3 separate regions of the Homo sapiens genome follow, and regions 2 and 3 are each linked to region 1. The links are contacts of gene promoters, found by promoter capture Hi-C in blood cells and fetal thymus (Javierre and others, 2016). All regions are on one chromosome and are shown on one strand. The core of a region is centred on a gene start or on the middle of the fragment in contact, and the rest is flanking DNA. Distances in the headings are between cores, read along the strand shown. Region 1 holds the start of COG2 (component of oligomeric golgi complex 2). Region 2 overlaps TRIM67 (tripartite motif containing 67). Region 3 overlaps EXOC8 (exocyst complex component 8).

What was found. The method cuts DNA at HindIII sites, captures the fragments that hold promoters and counts their contacts. A CHiCAGO score of 5 or more calls a contact.
Region 2: a contact is called between a fragment that was not itself captured here and the fragment with the promoter of COG2 in region 1, in 1 of 17 cell types (megakaryocytes). The highest score is 5.1, in megakaryocytes.
Region 3: a contact is called between a fragment that was not itself captured here and the fragment with the promoter of COG2 in region 1, in 2 of 17 cell types (fetal thymus and naive CD8 T cells). The highest score is 5.8, in fetal thymus.

Annotation. Positions count from the first base shown.
Region 1 is chr1:230,640,666-230,645,607 of GRCh38, forward strand. COG2 (component of oligomeric golgi complex 2) reads left to right here and starts at 1,816. Exons shown (of 18, transcript NM_007357.3): 1 at 1,816-2,013. The coding sequence starts at 1,942. LOC124904545 (a long non-coding RNA gene) reads right to left here and starts at 32. Exons shown (of 2, transcript XR_007066935.1): 1 at 1-32. RefSeq lists silencers at 1,610-1,749, 3,363-3,482 and an enhancer at 1,840-2,059. The HindIII fragment of the contact is 12,366 bases long and covers 1-2,341 here.
Region 2 is chr1:231,194,504-231,199,330 of GRCh38, forward strand. It overlaps TRIM67 (tripartite motif containing 67), which reads left to right. Exons shown (of 10, transcript NM_001004342.5): 2 at 2,868-2,963; 3 at 4,544-4,666. Among named protein-coding and RNA genes, the nearest start is that of TRIM67-AS1, 9.3 kb to the left of the region's middle. The HindIII fragment of the contact is 546 bases long and covers 2,245-2,790 here.
Region 3 is chr1:231,330,810-231,335,647 of GRCh38, forward strand. EXOC8 (exocyst complex component 8) reads right to left here. Exons shown (of 1, transcript NM_175876.5): 1 at 1,944-4,838. The coding sequence ends at 4,759. Among named protein-coding and RNA genes, the nearest start is that of EXOC8, 4.6 kb to the right of the region's middle. The HindIII fragment of the contact is 1,959 bases long and covers 1,965-3,923 here.

The DNA of each region.
Region 1 (4,942 bases), core at 566-3,065:
CTGAGGCGGGTGGATCATCTGAGGTCAGGGGTTCGAGACCAGCCTGACCAACAGGGAGAAACACCATCTCTACTAAAAGTACAAAATTAGCCAGGCATGGTGGCACATGCCTGTAATCCCAGCTACTCGGGAGGCTGAGGCAGGAGAATCGCTTGAACCTGGGAGGTGGAGGTTGCGGTAAGCAGAGATCATGCCATTGCACTCCAGCATGTGTAACAACAGTGAAACTCCGTCTCAAAAAAATATATATATATATGTATATATATATATATATAAAACAACAAAAAAAGAAGGTCTCGATGCGGTGGGTGGGGAAGGGCAGAGGAGACAGGTTGATGATGGTTGAAGCGAGGTGCTAAGTACATAGGGTGGGGTTCTTGTGCTCTCCACACTTCTGTGTACTTGAAAATTTTCATAACAAGAGAAAACAAAAAATTAAACAGAAAATGAGGTTTTCATTTCCTCCAGCAAAACAAACATAACAGGGACTTAGGATGTACTTTTCCCAATCGCTCCTCTGGCAGAATATTTTGATCCTCCAGCTAGCTTCCGGCTCTTATCCTGTTCATCTGTTCTGTAGATACTGGCAGGAAATAGGCTCTTCAACAGGGCCTGCTAGGTCCAGTGCTAGGGAGTAGAGCGTTTTGGATTCTACGCCTACATTTTTTTTTAAGTGACCAGTTTTCTAGTTGAGATACTTGAAATACAAAGTCTCATGGTGAGGTCTTACCCTCTGCTGTCCCATTCCTTTTTACAGGCCATCATGGCGTTAATCTTATCTCCAAGGAGAAAAATTGGGAAGAGAGGCCTAGATTCCTCAACAGAAGCGGGAAGGAAAGGTTTGCAGAATGAAGAGTGTGAAGTGAGGTTTGTGGTTTGAATCATCCGAATGTCAAGGAGAAAAGAAGAAAAATGAATCATCATCATTTGACCACGGTATTTACAGCTAGCGGAAGGGACAAGAGGAGAAAAAAGCAAGGGAGGAGATAAAGGAAGAACGTCTCAGAATAAAATTGGGGTGGGTGGGGGGAGGAGGAGGAAGACAGTCTAAGAAATTGGTTTGGTTGCACCAGTACTGGCCACAACACAAAAATTTGTCCATTCCTGGTTGAAATTAAAAATAAATGTGCATGCACATGTATTTGTCTGCTGTGTTTAATCAGATAGCGAGGCACTCCTTTAAGCACCTTGAAGACCCAAAGTTGCGCTCAGAGGCTGCCCACCTGGAACGGAGACCGAGGTTGAGCAGGGAGCTACTCAGAGGACCCAAAGCCGCCTAGCTGACCACCTTCTTCCCTATGAGTTCCCAGTAACGGAGCCCAGTGGAGGAGACGCTACACTTCTCTGTGGGGACAGAGGCTAAGGGCGGGGGTCTCCATAGAGGCGTTAGCGCCCACCAGCGGCAGTGACCGCGCACAGGGAGGTGAAGAATGCGACCACGGTGATACGTCCAACCTGGAAAACGGGCCTGAGAACCAAAGGGCCAACTTCTGGCCATGCATAACGAAGCAGAGCAGTCTCAGGGTAGAAGGCACTGGAAAAGCGTTGTAGGACAATTTTTCCCAGTAGAAACGGTGGGGGTGGGAGGGAGACCCGCTCACCCCTTTTGACCCACCCCTGCAGCTCAGCCACGCCTCCTAGGGAGGTGGGCAGCCTTGCAGGAGCCCGCGCGAGGCTGCAGTACCGCCCTCCGCCACATGAGGGCAGCACGGCCTACCCGTGCAGCAGCGGCGGCCCCCGCGCCCCTCTTGGCCAGAGCCAGGCGCAGGCCGGCTTGCGGTGCCGTCGTTCATTGGCCGCGGCGCGGGCGCTGCCATGTTGGCGGAAGCGGACCCCCCTGTGCCGTGGAAACTGGCGGTGGCCGCGGCCGCCGAGTCGGTCTGCGCAGCCTCCTGCGTTTTCTCGCTTGGATCTTGGCACTGAGAGGCGGTGGCCGGCGGGATGGAGAAAAGTAGGATGAACCTGCCCAAGGGGCCGGACACGCTCTGCTTCGACAAGGACGAGTTCATGAAGGTGCGCGCGGCGTCCGCTCCCCGGAGCCGGGCCATGAGGGTGCCTCTGCCCTGTGCCCTCTGTGGCGGTCTCTTCGGTCGGCTGCTCCTGCCTGCGCACGCTCAGTGTCAGGTCCTCCGCCGAGACCTCGCTGCACTTCGCAATGAGTCTTTTGGCGTCAGGTTTGGCGGGTGCAGCCTGGAGAAAGCACTTCTGTAAAATCGTGCGTGTTACATGGAAAGGCCTGAAAGTTCTGGGCAAGTGGTTTTGAGCTGCATGTCAAAGCCACTGTTACCCGTTCCTGTTACCATGCAGTGCAGTCAGATTGCCAGTCCCCTTGTCGGAAAGAAGCTTGTGGACCGGGGCCTTGGAGCTCATTAAGTGTGTGTTGAATAAATCTCCAAGCCCACGTACTTTCCTAGGGACTCGGGTCGGAAAGAAAAAGAACTTAATCTGAAGTTTTGCTTAACATTCAGCTAAAGCTTCCAGAATGGGATATTTAGAAGCTTAGAACATTCTTACCGACTATTGCAGTACGACAAAGCAAACCATTACTCTTTAAAGAAGTTGCTCTACTTTTTACGTGATGCATTTGAAGAAGTTGGTAGTTGTAGGTCATAAACTTAGAGAAAAGAAATATAAACTGAAAACACTTCACTGATGATAAAGTTCATCAGGCACAGCCTTGAAAATGGCCAGGCTTTGAGTGAGAGCTGGGAGGAGCTTTGCTCCTACTTGGTGTATCCCTCTGGGTCTGCACTTAAGCCATTCAAAAAATGTTTCTATTTAATTTCCTGAGGACTAGGATTTTTGACACCTTTTAGTAGCTGCTTTCAGTGTTAAAAAGCGAAAAGTTTTAGCTGGTTAGTAGACATCTACAATTTTGAGCAAGTGAGTTGAAATCTTACTCTGCCTTTCTTGGTGACATAATGTTTTCTAGATTAATTAGCCTATCTCTTTTTGATAATATTTGCATTCAGATTACATCTCCAAAGCTGTTTTTTTTTAAAGTAGATCTGTATCTTCTCCAGTGTGACCATATCATTTTTCGTATGTAGGACTTATCTATACCCAGGAATAATGTACCTTATTCTTGTAAGTGATATTCCTATTAGACCACTGTACTAAAAGGTGTAACTTCATTAGGATGTCTCAAAGAATGTACAGAATCAACTCATTGATCCAGAAACCCTTCGTTTTGCCTACTGGCTAAGAGCTACCCTGAAATGAGGGTAGAAAGAAACAGCTAAGGGTACATGCTGGGGAGAGGTGCCCTGGAAGAGGAAAGGCCATACACGGAGATCAGGGGCCTTGTTGACGTCAAGAATCTCAGAGTACAGAATAATCTCAGTTTGTCCATCTCTTGACTTCTTAAGGCTCAACACCAGCATCTTCTCTGACTCACTAGCCCCACCACCTTTCCCACTCTGAGTTGACAGAATGCCTTTGGTAAATGCAGCTTCAGGAAGTGAAATCACAGAAATACAAGTTCTAAAATAGAACTTAGAGTGCAAACTGGGGTGGTGGCTGGAATGCCAGCAATTGCATATTTCGTGGCTCTGTGAATATGCGGTACATTTTGTAGTGCTTATAAAAGTGACAACATACATAGAAGAAAATACATAGAACAGCTGTTCTGTGTAAAATTTTGTTGATTTTTTAGGTGGAGCTTGAAGATAAAGGTTATTTGCAATTTGTGTTGCCTTAAACATATAAAACTACATATAAGTTGCACTTCCATGGCAGAAAGGATGGTTGGAACACTTGTCCAGGCTATATTTCTATGTTTGTGTCTCATTCAGCACATTTTGTAATTGGATAGGTTTTGTACGTGTGAGAAAGTTGGGATATGACATTTGCATTGGGAGATTTGAGATTGCTTGAAAATCCAGATTTAAAGTTGCTTGAAATCCACTCTCTTCTGTTATTACCTCTCTTCTGGTATTACGTCTCTTCTGGTGTTGATGGGAAACTGTGTTTAGGTTGCCATAGATCATGAGGGCATGCTAGTGCAGTGGTAGCAATTGTTCAGTCAGTGGGCATTCCATGATCACCTGCTGTGTGCAGGTTTCAATGGGCCTTGTATACTGTACTGACGGATTTGCACTTGATTTAGTATTCATTGTGGAGTTACAGTCAGGTTAAAAGCAGGAAATGACATGATCATGTATGTTGCAGTTGGAACTGACTGGTGGCGGGAGGCTACTTAAAAAGTTATTTCAGTGGTTTTTATGAGATCTGAGAAATACAGGAGGGGATAGTTTGTGGAAAATATTACGTAAATGATCAAAAAGCAGGAGTGGCAGATGAACGAATCACTTGAGGGGTCAAAGGTGGTAATGGCATGATACTGTTGACTTCGTCAGCTTAATAAAATATACACACTGAGCAACATAGTGAGAATGCATTTCTACAAAATATTGAAAAATTAGCCAGGTGTGGTGGCACATACCTGTAGTCCCAGCTACTTGGGAGGCTGAGGTGGGAGGATTACCTGAGCCTGTGGAGGTCAAGGCTGCAGTGAGCCAGGATTGCAGCACTGCACTTCAGCCTGGGCAACAGAAAGAGACCCTGTCAAAAAAAAAAAAAAAAAAAAAAAGAAAATGTACAAACACTCTTAGAGAGGGTTGACAATCAGTAGATGAATTAGGATGTAAGATACTGGTAGTAGGAGAGAGGTGGTAGGCTAACAGGGATAACTTAAACCCACTTAACCTAGGTATGCTGTGGCAATCATATCCTTCTGTCTCACGTATGACTTCATGTGTTTTACAGAAAAAATAGAGGCCATCAAGCGGTAGCTCCTTCATCTTGCTGACAGCAACCTCGTTCTTGCATTTGTACCTGTTCTCACTCCCATCATTAACCTGTTGTGTAGGGCAATGGTCCCCAACCTTTTTGACACTTTTGGAAGACAATTTTTCCATGGACCAGGAGTGCAGGGGATGGT
Region 2 (4,827 bases), core at 1,268-3,767, 550 kb after region 1:
TCACAGGTTGGAAGGCTTATCTAGAAAGTGAAGGAGAAGGGAGAGCTCCTCCTATCAGAGTTGTCCTTTTCCATTGATGGCTACAGCACAGAGGTTACATTCATTGGCTACAGATGACAACATACAGGCTAACATTCCATGTGCAAGGCGATCAGTAAAACTTTGTGATTCAGAAACAAATGTGTCATTTTTATTTTGAGACACAGTCTCACTCTGTCACCTAGGCTGGAGCACAGTGTCATAATCATAACTCACTGTAACCTCAACCTCCTGGACTCAAGCCATCCTCCTGCCCCAGCCTCCCGAGTAGCTGGGACTACAAGCACACACCACCATGCCCAGCTAATTTTTAAAATTTTTTTATAGAGAGAGGGTGAGGATGAGGGAGGAAAGCGGGGCCGGGGAGTGCGGCAGGGAGGTCTCTCTATGTTGCCCAGGCTGGTCTTGAACTCTTGGCCTCAAGCAATTCTCCTGCCTCTGCCTCTGAGTAGCTGGAATTACAGGAATGAGCTACCCCACCTGGCTTCACTGTCCTTTTTGATGTCAGTAGGTTATGTATTAATCAGTATGTCAACAGTTTGAGGAACTCACAGTAAGATTTGAGGGCCTCGGGATAAGAGCCTTTTCTCAGAGACAGGATGTAAGCCATGAATCACGAGGCCTTTCCCAGGAGGTTAATCCAGAAGCCTGCCAAATGTGACCTGTAGGTTATCAGATGGGTGTCAAACCTGTGCTCTCCAGGACTAGCCACTGGCTAATCACACATGGCAGTTGCAACTTACCCTAAATAATATGAAAAGTCCAGCTCCTCAGTCACATTAGCTACTTCAAGTGCTCAGTACCCACAGGCAGCTAGCGGCTACCGTCAGGGACAGAGCAGACCTGAGACGCTTCTGCCATCACTGTATATTCTATGGGATGTTTCACTGCCTAGGTGCTGGCAACAGATGGTGGTACACTGTGGGCCAGCTATGGAGTGGAGAGCCTAAACCCACTGAGGTGGGGCTGGGAGTGGTGAGGCTCATGGTGTAGGAAAAAGCTTCTCCAAGGAGCTGCACCTCCGCTGATCCTTAGCCTAAGGCTCCTGCTCTCTCTGAGCAGACAGCCTAGACCTTGACCTCTCCTTGCGTGCTGGTGCTCCTGGGGACCGGGCCCCCTTCCTTGTATTTCCACCTACTCCCTGTGTCTTTTTGTGGGCTTCCTTTGCCATCTTCTCCATAGGTTTTCAGTGGAGGCTGCACTTGCACAGTCCAGGGGATCTCAAACTGCATCAGAACCCCCTGGAGGGCTTGGTAAACCGCAGACTCCAGGGCTTCACCCACGACCTCTGATCAGCAGATCTGGGGTGCAGCCAGAGACGGTGCACTTCAACAAATCGCCCAGTGATGCTGATGTTGCTGGTCTAGAACCACACTTTGACAACCGTTGGTGTGGTCTAAAGAATCCCATTCACTGATTCATGCATTCAACAAATATTTATTGAATGCCACCATGTGCCGGGTACTCTTCCAGTGCCGGGATAAGCTGTGAGCCACCCAGCAAAGCCCTTGTCCTTCATTCTAGGACATGGAGATGGACAGCAAACAAGTTTTCTAGGTTGGGTGGTGACGACTGTTAGGAGGAAGAATAAGCCAGGGGAAGGCGAGGGGGATATTGCACAAGGTCGTGAGGAAAGTCCTCACTGACACAGTGACGTCTGAGCAGAGACCTGGGAGGGGACTTGGGGGAGAAGGAGACCCTGGCCCTTCTGACTCTGCTTTGTTCTATCCTCAGCTTTTTAATGTGGAAAATGAGAGTCATGTAAAAATCAGGGTCACAGTCTGGATGGGCGTGATGGCTCACACCTGTAATCCCAGCAATTTGGGAGGCCAAGGTGGAAGGATCACTTGAGACCAGGAGTTTGAGATCAGCCTGAGCAACACAGCCTCCGAGACACCATCTCTACTAAAAAATGCAAAAATTAGCTGGAGGCTGATTTGGGAGGATCACTTGAGCCTGAGAGGTTGAGGCTGCAGTGAGTCATGATTGAGCCACTGCACTCTAGCCTGGGCAACACAGTGAGACCCTGTCTCAAAAAAAAAAAAAATCAAGGTCACAGTCTACTCAATAGCTAGGTTTTAAAGACAAATTCAATTGTGTGTGTATGTGGTTCGTTACAAAAAAGCCTGGTGCCAAAAGCCATAGATTTGAGCTCAGCTTGCAATTTCACCCTTGGGCCACAGCAACTGATCCTCATGCTTCAGAAGCTTCTGCTGGTCACACCCCTCTCTGCAGGGTGAGGAGTCCCCAGGGCTAAGGGTACCAGGCTAGGAGCCTGTATGCCCCTTTAGAGGATGCCCTAGGATTACCAGTCCATACACCTAGTCCAGTTCCAGGACCCACAGCCCCCTTCCTGTCCATCCCTCAGGGCATACCAGGCCCCAGGGTTTGCACCCCAGGCCAGGAGATGACTGTGTAGGGATGGGGTGGACGGAACCTGACCTGGGGTCTGGAATGTCCATACAGGCATGTACTGATTATGGATAGAGGGGGCCAGGCCAAGCCAAGGACTCTATTTATCTTCTTGTCTTGGGCTCTACAAACATCAGGGGCAGACCTGTTTGCTTCAACCCGTTAGCTGAGTGCTCCTTACCTCTATCCAGCTTTGGGGATGAGAAAGGAGAGTGCAGGCCAATCTACCACTGTTGGAAAAATAAACAAATGTTGTAGAGATCATGGGTCAGTGGTGGTCCCTTCATCAATGAGAACAGCAGATGCGTGGGATCAGTCCTATCCCCTCTTATAAACATAAGCTTTTATGATGAAGTGCAAATTTTCTGTGCCTTTCACAACTAATTTTTCTTTTCAACATGTGATATCTTTTTCAGGCACAACTATCTCAGGCCTTAAATGGAGTTTCAGATAAGGCAAAGGAAGCAAAGGAGTTTCTGGTTCAGCTAAAGAACATATTGCAGCAGATCCAGGTGAGCACAGCTCTGGCGTCGGGAGAAATACTCAGTGTTGAAAGTTTGCACGTTGTGCATCGTATTAAGAAGAAAGAGGCGGGGCACGGTGGCTCACACCTGTAATCCCAACACTTTGGGAGGCCGAGGCGGGCAGATCACCTGAGATTGGGAGTTTGAGACCAGCCTTACCAACATGGAGAAACCCGTCTCTACTAAAAATACAAAAATTAGCCGGGCGTGGTGGCGCATGCCTGTAATCCCAGCTACTCTGGAGTCTGAGGCAGGAGAATCACTTGAACCTGGGAGGCGGAGGTTGCAGTGAGCCGAGATTGTGCCATTGCACTCTGGCTTGGGCAACAAGAGAGAAAGTCTGTCTCAAAGAAAAGAAGAAGAAGAAGAAGAAGGAGAAGGAGAAGGAGAAGGAGAAGAAGGAGAAGAAGAAAGGAAAAGTCTTGTAGCAAGCATTTTCTCAGTGATGGACATTAGAAGGTTTATGTGTCCTACCCTATAGCCTTGGGTGCTGAAAGTGTCACATATTCAACTCATTGGCACACAAGTGACACCTGATACAGGAAAGGACTTTTACATGGAGCCAATTAGAGAGAGCTGGAAAGATGTGATCTAGCACTCTACGTGCCATGTCGTCGTCCTTTGTGGCATCTGTATATGGTGCTTTTGTGGCCGAATATGCCCATGTCATCAATGCATCAAAATATAAATGCATCATTTTCTAAACAAATGTGTTTACTGAACTCTTATGCTGTGTCATGTACTGAGCCCAGCACAAGATACAAAGATCAATGAGGCACCATGTGTGCCTCAGGGTCTGTCTATAGGGGAGAACGTGCACACACAGGTGCTCCTGTGTGAATGTGCACACATAGAGGAACTGCTCATAAGATGAGAAAGCATTAACATATCTGGAGGAATAAGAGGGACTGAATTCTTTTTTTTTTGAGACAGAGTCTCACTCTGTCGCCCAGGCTATAGTGCAATGGCACGATCTCAGCTCACCGCAACCTCCGCCTCCCAGGTTCAAGCAATTCTCCTGCCTCAGCCCCCTGAGTAGCTGGGATTACAGGCATGTGCCCCTACACCCAGCTAATTTTGTATTTTTAGTGGGGACGGGGTTTCTCCATGTTGGTCAGGCTGGTCTCCAACTCCCAACCTCAGGTGATCCACCCGCCTTGGCCTCCCAAAGTGCTGGGATTATAGGCATGAGCTGCCGCGCCGGGCCTGTTCTATTACTTTAAACACACATACACACACACACACAATGTATGAGATTATGCTGTGAATAACGTGTATCCTGACTTTTTTTCTTTCTTAACAGTCTCTCATGAGCATTTTCTCATGGCATTAAAAGTGCCCTATGAACAAGATTTGAATGACTACAGAATATTCTGCCATATGGCTGTGATGAGATTCATAGTACCTGCCTTAATTCATATAAATATTGTCTCTAATTTAACAACATTATAGAGAAATCTAGGATGAACTTCTCTGAAATATATCTTTGTCTATAGCACTCACCAGATTTTAGCATCTTCCCCCTAAAACTCTTTGCTTCTTCCCAACCAACCCCCAACCTCTGCCAGGAAAACGGACTGGACTACGAAGCCTGCCTCGTTGCTCAGTGTGATGCCCTTGTGGATGCTTTAACTCGTCAGAAAGCCAAGCTGCTCACCAAGGTGACTAAAGAGAGGGAACACAAGTTGAAGGTAGGTACCTGGGGGACTGACACATTGAATCCCTGCCACATCCTCTGCACCCAGCGTGGGGTGGAGCACAGAGTAGGCACTGGGGAAATAACAGCTAAGTGAGTGAATGAATGAGCTAATGAATGAATGAGGCAAGGAAGGGATGCACCAGCTGGTTCGGT
Region 3 (4,838 bases), core at 1,694-4,193, 690 kb after region 1:
ACAGGGTCTCGCTCTGTCCCCCAGGCTAGAGTGCAGTGGTGCTGTCATGGCTCACTACAGCCTCAACCTCCTGGGCTCAAGCAATCCTCCTGCCTCAGCCTCCCGAGTAGCTGGGACTTACAGGTGTGCGCCACCACGCCCGGCTAATTTTTCTATTTTTTGTAAAGACGGGGGTCTACCTATGCTATTCAGGCTGGTCTCGAACTCCTGGGCTTAAGCAATCCACTCTCCTTAGCCTGCCAAAGTGTTGGGATTACAGACTTGAGCCACTGTGCTTGGCAAGGCTACTCTTAATTAAACAGTGAATGAATACAGGTTTATAAGCATTCATGTAAACAGGTATTTTCCTATACTGTTGGAGAGAACTTAAAAATGATATAACCCTCCTGATGAGCAACTGGTAATGCTTAAATTTAAAATGTAATTTGGCAGAGCAATTTCTAAAAATACATCCCATAGATATATTCGCATAAGCGAATAGGAGGATGTGCATAGGTTTTCAGAATTTTTTTTTTGTAATCAACAAAACTTGAAGCCAACCAAGTAATTGGAAAATGCAAAATTATGATATATTCATTCACTGTGATTGACAACTACCCAATCACAGAAGAAAAACCCAGTGGGGTACAGCAAGAGGTACTGATACGAGATGTCTTAAAACACTGAACTGCTAAGTGACTAAAATCAAGATGCAGAACTGTATGCAGAGTATGATACAATTTCTGGAAAAATATGTACATGAAATTCTTACTAGTAGTTACCTCTAGTGAATGGGATTGTTGGGGGGATGAGGACTTTTATTTTTTACTTTAACTCTTCTGCACATTGCATATGGATTGAAGCTTGCTTTGTAGGCAAATGTGGCTTATTTACGCTTTTCCAAACTCTGCAATTCATCCAGGAAGGTCTCTTCATATGACACCCACATTCCCACTTCTGTGCCTTGGGCTCAGGTCCTACTCTTCCATTTTCTTTGCACATTTAAGTCTTGTCCATTCTTCAAGGACCCGCTCAAATGCCAACAATTCCATGAGAACTTTCTAAACTCCTTAAAAGTACACTGCTCTCTTCCTTCTTGGTATTTCCACTGTACACAGCTGTGCATTTGATTATTCTCTCACTTATATTTGTTGACTTTTTCCAATTTCTAAGCATCTTAAGAGGACGAAGTATGTTTAAAATTATTAAAATTCTTCTGCACTCCCACATTACAGTCAATATGAAGCATAGCATTCAATACTTTTAAATATGTGATAGTTTCCTCAGGATATACATATTACTTTCAAAAGGGCAAGCCTGGCCGGGCATGGTGGCTCACGCCTGTAATCTCAGCACTTTGGGAGGCCGAGGCGGGTGGATCACCTGAGATCAGGAGTTCGAGACCAGCCTGGCCAACATGTTGAAACCCCATCTCTACTAAAAATAAAAAAATTAGCCGGGCATGGTGGCGGGCCCCTGTAATCCCAGCTACTCAGGAGGCTGAGACAGGAGAATGGCTTGAACCCAGGAGGCAGAGATTGTAGCGAGCAGAGATCACGCCACTGCACTCCAGCTTGGGCGATATGGGAAGACTCTGTCTCAAAAAAAAAAAAAAAGGCCAAGCCTTGTCATTTAGTTCCTAGGTCTTGTGGCCTACATTTTATTTTCTTTATTTAGAGATGTGCAGATGGTATAAAATCTACTTTTTTATAATAAATTCACATTTTGTACCTCTGAAATTTTCCATTCGAGGGAATTTTAAAAAATTGAGATCTGATTTATTCACAATTCTGACGGTAAGCAGAACACTTACTTAATTTAGCAAACAGCTTCCTAAGTATCCTCCCCACATAAATAAAACAAAAAACTAGGGTCTTCAAAGAATATTTCAGTAACAAGAATATAAAAATATTGAATACCAACTAAAGAAGAGCAATAGATATAATATCTTAATATCACTTTTATCCAGTGTAAGACAATTTTTAAGCTTTATTTTTATGAAACATTTCAGATTCCCTCATATCACAGCACATCAATAAGCAGTATGTACATAGACTGACTTTTATAGTACATGTCATGTCCCAAATTCCCAATCCTAGGTAAGATATCAAGTTACAAAATACAAGTGCCGATAATTAAACTATAGGTAGTATATTAAACAAAAATGAGTTTTTAGCAATTATGTGAAATAAGGCTTTAACCAAAGCAAGACTTAATGCCACAAGGTGTCTTTTTTCCCCAAGAGTAATTAATTCAATCAAGCCCATGATTCCAAGCTCAAGTAACAAGTTTTATATTCTTGAAGCAAACAAGAAAAGGCAATCAATGCTTAAGTGGTATATTTTAGTATATATTACATTTCTGGACAATCTCTCATTGCATTCAATTTTTAGAACTTGTCTTGGGTCTAATAAAACAGAAGAATTAGAGAAGAAAGCCCATGCCACTTTGAGGAATGTAACATAATTGTTTTGTCTGGGTACAAAGGTACGTTACAACACTGGGGGTCTTTAGTCAAGTTCCCATACTAATTGACTCACCAAAGCATACTTCCTTCAGCTACAACTGTAATTGGAACACACAGATTTTACCTGAAGAAAATCCTGTACTTCCAGTTTTAAAAAGCAGACAATTCTATGAAGAAGCAACCATTTAAATATCTAACTATACACATTCAAGTTTTTACAACTTCATGCCTTATGAGGAATTTTGATTTCAGAAGTATCATTCCACAGACTCAGCATCATATATTTATACATATTTCATACAGTATAGTATTAGAAACTGTAAATGGCACAGAATAATCATAATTATCACAAAATTTTATCAATTTCCAGTGATCTTAAAAAGACAAATTATAACCGCCTTTGCTCAGCTAAGATATCCAGTTATGGTTACAACTTTCGAAAATCCTAAAGTTATGTGAAAAAAATTAGTCAAAGAAAATCTGTAAATCTGATACTTTCCAATATTTTAAATATGCACAGCTAAAGAGAAAATAAAGGGGTTGATCTGGCACATGAATAATTAAGTCAATGAATTTTACAACCCTGAGCCACTTTGGCAACTACTTTAGGTTTCACATAATTTTCACAGTCTTAGTACCACCATTTTCATTCAGATAAAAGAAATGACCTTTTGAAATCATGGGCATCAAATTTGGTGCTTATGGACAAGAATCACAACTAGAAGCTAGAGACAAAATGGATCACAGCAAGCACAGTTTCCCTCAAAGAATAAGGAACGCTATAGAATATACAACAGCGATAGTTTAGAAACCTTGGGAAGCTCACATTTCTTTAGTTATTTTGTTTTACTAAACAATTTGAAGTAAGCATTATATTCATGTTTAAAAACAAAGCAAGGAAAAATAAAAAATGAAACAAAAATGCAGCATGGAACATTTTAGGAGTCACAGAAGGTTCTCTTCTTCCCTTTGTTTTGGGCACATTGTCTCACCTGTTTTCACTTTGTTACAAAAGGAAACAAAACCAAATCTCTGCTCAGAGTGGTCATAGTGAGAACACTGAGATTTGCATATGTTTTTCTACTTTCCCATCCATCTAGACCCTGAAATCTAAATAAATATTTCAGTTAAAACTTTTTTTCCATTTGCATGAAGTCTGGGTCACTATATCTCCTACCCTGAATGGGGGAAGATGGGACAGCTATATCTCATACTGAAGCGGTGGCAGCTAAAACCTGGCAACTGCTGCCAGTGTCCCCAATGTGTCTTGCTTATTATTTTTTAAAATGTGACAAAGACAAAAGCTACAGCTGGAAACTCACACAATTTAGAAATATGTTGAAAACTTTTATTATAGTCCTTAGGATTTCCAAGTAAATGCTCCCAAATCAAGTATTACAAAGCTGCTAATTAATTAGCAACTGAAAATTAGCCATTCAAATTATATTGGAAATATTTGCTGAATTGTTTTTATGAAAGCTTCCTCTTGGATTCTGTAAGGATCAGAGTATCTGAATCCACAAACCAGCTAGTTTCAAGAAAGAATTCTTTTGACTAAAACTTACCTTAAAACCAATTTTCCCAACTCTTTTCCTTTTCCCAAATAGTCCAACGTTTTGAGGAGAAATATATGAGGCAGGTTGTTTTATACGGCACTGTACCCTTTAGGAAACCTAACATTTCAGTGAACTGGGAAACTTCACAACATAAACTCTATGTATTTATAGATATTATGACTGCTGTATAATATATACTGTGGGGAAAAAAAAAAAGAAGAAAGAAAAGACTAGCCTGGGCAACATGGCGAAACCCCATCTCTACAAAAAATACAAAAATTAGCTGGGTATGGTGGTGCCTGCCTGTGGTTCCTGCTACATGGGAGGCTGAGGTGGGAGGACTACCTGGGCCCGGGAGGTCAAGGCTGCAGTGAGTCGAGACTTTGCCACTGCACTCCAGCCTGTGCGACGGGGTGAGACCCTGTCTCAAAAAAAAAAAAGAAAAAAGAAAAGTTTTATCAAAGGATAAAACCGAAATGCTATAGTATATAGTGTGACCATAATTTCAGAAGAAGAGAATTAGCATAATTTAAAAGGATAGCTAGCATACTATACGTTTTAATAATTCCAGTATTTTTGTTACTTGGGCTTAATTTAACTTATTTTCCTCTTTTTGATTTTTGTATTTTTAAGAGGGCACTTTTAATTTTCAAGTTGTGTTTGAAACTATAGAGTATGCTAATACAACTTAATATAAATATAAATAATATATAAGCTCTCTCTCTGCATATATACACATATAAACAGACCCAAGCATTAGACCACTGATGTTGTACTTTCAGGATTCACACGAATAAGTCTAGATGCATTCCTCAGATCTTGGAGTTGCTTGGCAG